Linked DNA regions of Homo sapiens: region 2 is linked to region 1. The links are contacts of gene promoters, found by promoter capture Hi-C in human tissues and cell types (Jung and others, 2019). All regions are on one chromosome and are shown on one strand. Each heading gives the region's core, a stretch centred on a gene start or on the middle of the fragment in contact. The rest is flanking DNA. Distances are from core to core; before and after follow the strand shown. Region 1 holds the start of POLM (DNA polymerase mu). Region 2 overlaps NUDCD3 (NudC domain containing 3).

Region 1 (2,700 bases), core at 201-2,700:
ACTAAAGATGTCAGAGAGGAGCCAAAGAAAAAGGATAGGTGCTCAAGGAGTCTGGGGCTCAAGACTGAGGACGATGGGGCAGTGATGAGGAGAGGCATGTGGAAGGGGGTTGCATCTGATCTGGTGTCCCATCAGTTAGGCTGAGCAGTGCCACACTACCGTAACAGAGGTTACAAATGGAGTATATCTAAATAAGATAGACAGAAGACTTGATATTATCAAGACATCAGATTTCCCCAGCTTGATCTATAGATTCAATGCAATCCCAATCTTGGGAAAGGAATTGCTGGATCAATGTGTATTATTTTGTTTTCATTTTGTTGGATGTGGTTGCCACATTGGCTTCCACAGTCCTTCCTATGGATTGCCAATTACCTCGCACCTTCAACATGTGTGGTCAATTTTTTTGAATGTTTGATAAACCCACAACTGAAGATATTCTCATTTAGGTATTCTGTAACGACTGGACAGGTTGGGCACTCTGGTCATAAATTTATTGACCAGGATTTCTTCTAAGAATCATCTACGTGAGTTTTTTTGCTAATTTTTCTATTAAATTATTGTCTTTTTATCTATGGACAATTTGATAAGATTATCATGAGATAATCTTAATTCCAAAATATCTCACACTTTATCCCAGTTTATCTTCTGACTCTAATTTTTAATCAGATTTAAAATTTGTCTGTAGTCCAGTTTATCATTCTTTTCCTTTAGTGTTTCCAAGTTTATTGTGATATTTAGATCATAAAAACATTCACCGACTTTTTTCCAGTACGTTGTTGGTTTCCTTTTTAGATGGAAATGTTTGACCCATCTGGAATTTATTTTGGTGTTAAGGAATGAGGAAGGGCACCAACTTCTATTTTTCCAAATGGCCTGCCAGTTGTCCTAATGCCATTCGACTGAAAAATCTTCCCGCGTGTTTGAAGCGACCGCCCCACCAGCGCATTGGAAACCCGCGTGTCGGTCCTGCGCCCGCCGGCTTCCGTGTGACAGTCCCGAGCGCAGAGGGATCGGGCACAGCCCGCACGCGTCCGCCCCGAGCCGCCGGCTCAACCCTAGACCCAGCCCCGGCGCCAAGGACACAGCCCACCCCGCTCCGCCCGGGCCTAGGTCCCAGTTCACCCTCCCTAGCCGGGGACGCCCCCTTGACCCCGCCTCCTCCACCCCCTCCAACACCCTCCCCGCCCCGCTCCAGCCCAGCCTCTCCTCCCGGAGGCCAATGGGGCCGAACAGCGCTTTCCGAGACATTAATTTAAATAAAAGGCGGGTCCTCTGCCGTTATTTGCATGGAGGCGGGTCTTCCGGAGCGGCCGGGACACCCAATCCTGTAGGAGCCCGGACCCTCCCCAGCGCTCCGACTGGCCCAAGTAGCGAGCCCCACGGAGAGGCCTCATTTGCATAGGGCGGGGCCACGTCCTCTTCCAGCCGGCGGCCGCCCGCCCGCCCACCCGCTTCCGTCAGCCTCACTGGGGCTTCCTTCCGTCTCGCTCGGAGTTTCCCTCTGCGTTCGCTCCGCGCTGCTGGAGGCTGTCGTCCCAATGCTCCCCAAACGGCGGCGAGCGCGGGTCGGGTCCCCTAGCGGCGATGCCGCTTCCTCCACGCCGCCCTCGACGCGCTTCCCGGGAGTCGCCATCTACCTGGTCGAGCCTCGCATGGGTCGCAGCCGCCGGGCCTTCCTCACAGGCCTGGCGCGCTCCAAAGGCTTCCGCGTCCTTGACGCCTGCAGGTGCGGGGCGGCGCGGCGCGGCGAGGGCTTCCATGGCACTTCTGGTTTTGGATTCTAAGTTTGCAGTGGCACTTCGTGGTCTTGTGACCTTTCCCTGAGCCTCCATCTCCTCTTCTGTAAAGGGTGCTATTAATTAGGGCGAGGCGTGTTTTAAAGGATCACTGCGAGAATCAAAACCAGAGGTCAGGGGTAATTAATAAGCAGTAGGCCGGGCGCGGTGGCTCACGCCTGTAATCCCAGCACTTTGGGAGGCCGAGGCGGGCAGATCACGAGGTCAGGAGATCGAGACCATCCTGGCTAACACGGTGAAACCCCGTCTCTACTAAAAATACAAAAAATTAACCGGAGGTGGTGGCGGGCACCTGTAGTCCCAGCTACTCGGGAGGCTGAGGCAGGAGAATGGCATGAACCTGGGAGGCGGAGCTTGCAGTGAGCCGAGATCGCGCCACTGCACTCCAGCCTGGGCGACAGAGTGAGACTCTGTCTCAAAAAAAAAAAAAAAAAAAGTCGTATTTGCTAACAGCCCTTCTGCCTGGGCTATGTCCCACCTGTGAGCGAGACTGACTTCTCAAGAGGCCCGGAGCCCGCAGGCTCCTCTGTCCTCAGGCCTGAGTAAATAACACGACTGAGAAGCTCTTGTAGGAAGGGAACCAAGAGAAGAAAAAATGGCGGCTACAGAGACAACACCCAGAGTAAGGGAGCTGGGGGTGCCCCCTAGTTTGGAGGTTGAGAGAGCAAACGAACCTGGGGCTAGTATTCCCCCACAGTTGTGTTTGATTTTTTAACATTACCAGGGATCAGTAGTGCGCCAGACCCACTCAGGAGAGGATGATAGCAGCTTAGAGTGTACAAGGCACTATCTTTGTACAACAACCCCACAGGGTGGATATGTTATCTCTGCTTTACAGAAGAGGAAATCAAAGTATAGACACGTGGCTTGCCCAAGAGCCAAACAAGTATGTGGCAGGCAG
Region 2 (2,700 bases), core at 155-2,654, 310 kb before region 1:
AAAAGTTAACTGTAGAATTACCATATGACCCAGCACTTCTGGGTAAATATACAGAAGAATTGAAAACAGGGACTCAAACAGATGTATGTACATCAATGTTCATAGCAGCATTATTCACAACAGCCAAAAAGTGGGGGCACCTGAAATGTCCATCAGTTGATGAAACAAAATGTGGTTTATCCATACAGTGGAATATTATTCAACCTTAAAAAGGAATGGAGTTCTGATTCATGCTACAACATAGATGAACATTGAGGAGGACATTATGCCAAGTGAAATAAGCCAGACAAAAACAAACAGATAACTGTATTATTCCATTTGTGTGAAATGTCCAGAACCGGCAAATCTGTAGAGGCAGAATCATTAGTAGTTGCCAGTGGCTTGGTGGGGTTGAGGGAACAATTTAGAGGAAGGGTTAGAGCAAATGGGGAGTGACTGATAATTGGCACAGGGCTTCTTTGTGAGGTAATGAAAGTGTTTTGAAACTAGATAAAGGTGATGGTTGTGCACCATTGTGGATATACTACATGCCATTGGTTCACTTTTGAATGGTAAGTTTTGTGTTAAGTGGATTTTGCCTCCATTAGAAATTGTTCAATATAAAGTCGGCTCACATCTCCTCATAAAATACCACACTGATGCACATGCGTGACGTCTGTGAGTGAGGATGGCCCCCTTGGAGAGCTGCACTGCCCAGCACAGTAGCTGCTAGCCACATGTGGCAGCTGAGTAAACACTTGACAGGTGGCTCACGTGACTGGAGAACTGAATTATTTTATTTTAATTAACTTAAATTTAAAACCTACTTGATTTAGTTACTGGAAAACCTTGAATATTTTTGAAACAACTTGGGCATGTGAATATACCCTTTCAATTGTAAATATTATGAAATCTGAACACAGATGAAGTATTTCTGATGAAAAAGTGCAGTGCTCATCTTAATTTTTGTTGGGTTCAAGTGTACTTCTGTGTCCAAAGTACACTTGTGGACACAGAAGATTTGGGGATGTTCCCCTCCTTCCTGTTGGGCAGGTGGCTCATTGTCTTCAGGTCCATCTCCCACTGTGCCCAGGAGCCCTCCACTCTGGGTGTGTGTTTGGACCTGGCCAGTGAAACCCTGTGTTGGGGTCTGTGGAGTGCCAAAAGGCCTGAGAGCACCAGCACCGTCCCCTGGATGGTATGTAGGCCGACCCCCTGCCCACATGGTGCTGATGGTGGGCTGTCAGCCCCAGTGTAGCTCTGCTTTGCCTCTTCATGCTGGGCAATCTGGAAAAGGCCCTTACTTCCAAGGGTTTGTCCTCATTTTTAAATACAAAAAATGGTATGTATGGTAAATGGTAATGGTATGTGTTTTACAGGACTTGTGAACGCTAATAAAATAAGTTACATGGATCACAGTAATAACTACTGGTGAAGATAAAAAATTCGTAAAGGATCTCTTCTTTCCAGAGATTTACAGTTCTGTGAGTTCCTCTGAAGTCTTCCCTGGAATAGAGAAAACAATGCATTTCCCTCTTGGAAGGTTTTCATTGCATCAGCTTGGTAAAGACGAGGTAGAGTTTGTAGTGTTGGGGTCTCTGAGGGTGAGTCAGGTCCCCGTCACACAAACTGTAAAGTCAACGACAAACCAGCTTAGCAGAGTATCTGGAAATGGAAGATTCATCCCAAATTTAAATTGCACACTGGCAGAGCAGCGTCATTTACTGGGTAGAGCTGGCGTGTAGGGGAGCCACCCACTCCCCCTGTTCACCACTCCCCCTATCTGCATTCGGAATGTCAGACAAGATTTCTGGGATGCTGGCTTCAGATCATGATTGCAGGTTTTTGTCTTGCTCTTCCCAGTTCTGGAAAATCTCCACTGTGTGCTCTCCCGCACCACATCGGTGCCCACCCTCTTCATTAGTAGAACACATTCTCGGACTTGATCCCTGGGCTCTGCAGAGTCTGGTGCTGAGTACCTTCTTTGGTGTGGGTAGGTTTTGGCAGCAGGAGCTTGGAGGTGGGAAGGTGGAAGGTGCAGTGTTAGGACACTGCTCTCTCAAGCCCGTGTATACTGGTGAGTCTCCAGTGCTCCCTCTTGGGGGGACGTGGTGTCCTGTGGACTCACTGTGACCTCTTGAGTGTCACAGTTACCCTGAGTGTGGCTTGGTAGGTTTTGCCCACCTGGTCAGTAAGTGTCCTGGTGGCTGCCACCTCCATGGATGAGAGCTGCTCTCACTTGCGGGCCCTTTGCTACCTTTTCTCCCTTTCTGTGAGCACCTAGTGGTTTAATCCCATCAGAGAGTCCCATCACACTTGGGCATGTGAATGTACCTCTTTCAATTGTAAATATTATGAAATCTAAACACAGATCAAGTATTTCTGTTGAAAAAGTGCAGTGCTCATCTAGGGCAAAGTAGACAAACCCACTCTGTTGCTTCTTGGCCACTCTGGTAAGAATTTTGAGCCCAGCCACTGACCACAGCAGATGCAGCCAGTTTTCTTGTTTTCTGTGTCTGTATGACCACTGATAACAGGGCATGGTGTGGCCAGGGCCCTCCTCTGTGTCCCTGGGACAGGCCAAGCAGCCAGGGTCACCTAGGTACATACAGCACCCCTCACGTTTGCTCTCATACTGCAGTTCCAGTTGTCTTTTAAGTTTTTATGGTAATGACATGAGTCTCACAGACCCCAACACTGAGGGCTGGATCTTAAATGCTG

What was found. The method cuts DNA at HindIII sites, captures the fragments that hold promoters and counts their contacts. A contact is called where the count stands out against the background at its distance.
Region 2: a fragment that was not itself captured here is called in contact with the fragment with the promoter of POLM in region 1 in 1 of the 25 tissues and cell types used here (adrenal gland).

The regions. Positions count from the first base shown.
Region 1 is chr7:44,081,280-44,083,979 of GRCh38, reverse strand. POLM (DNA polymerase mu) reads left to right here and starts at 1,450. Exons shown (of 11, transcript NM_013284.4): 1 at 1,450-1,729. The coding sequence starts at 1,542. RefSeq lists a silencer at 885-1,464 and an enhancer at 1,176-1,676. The HindIII fragment of the contact is 16,372 bases long and covers 1-2,700 here.
Region 2 is chr7:44,393,276-44,395,975 of GRCh38, reverse strand. All of the region lies in intron 4 of NUDCD3 (NudC domain containing 3), which reads left to right. Among named protein-coding and RNA genes, the nearest start is that of CAMK2B, 69 kb to the right of the region's middle. The HindIII fragment of the contact is 5,065 bases long and covers 1-2,700 here.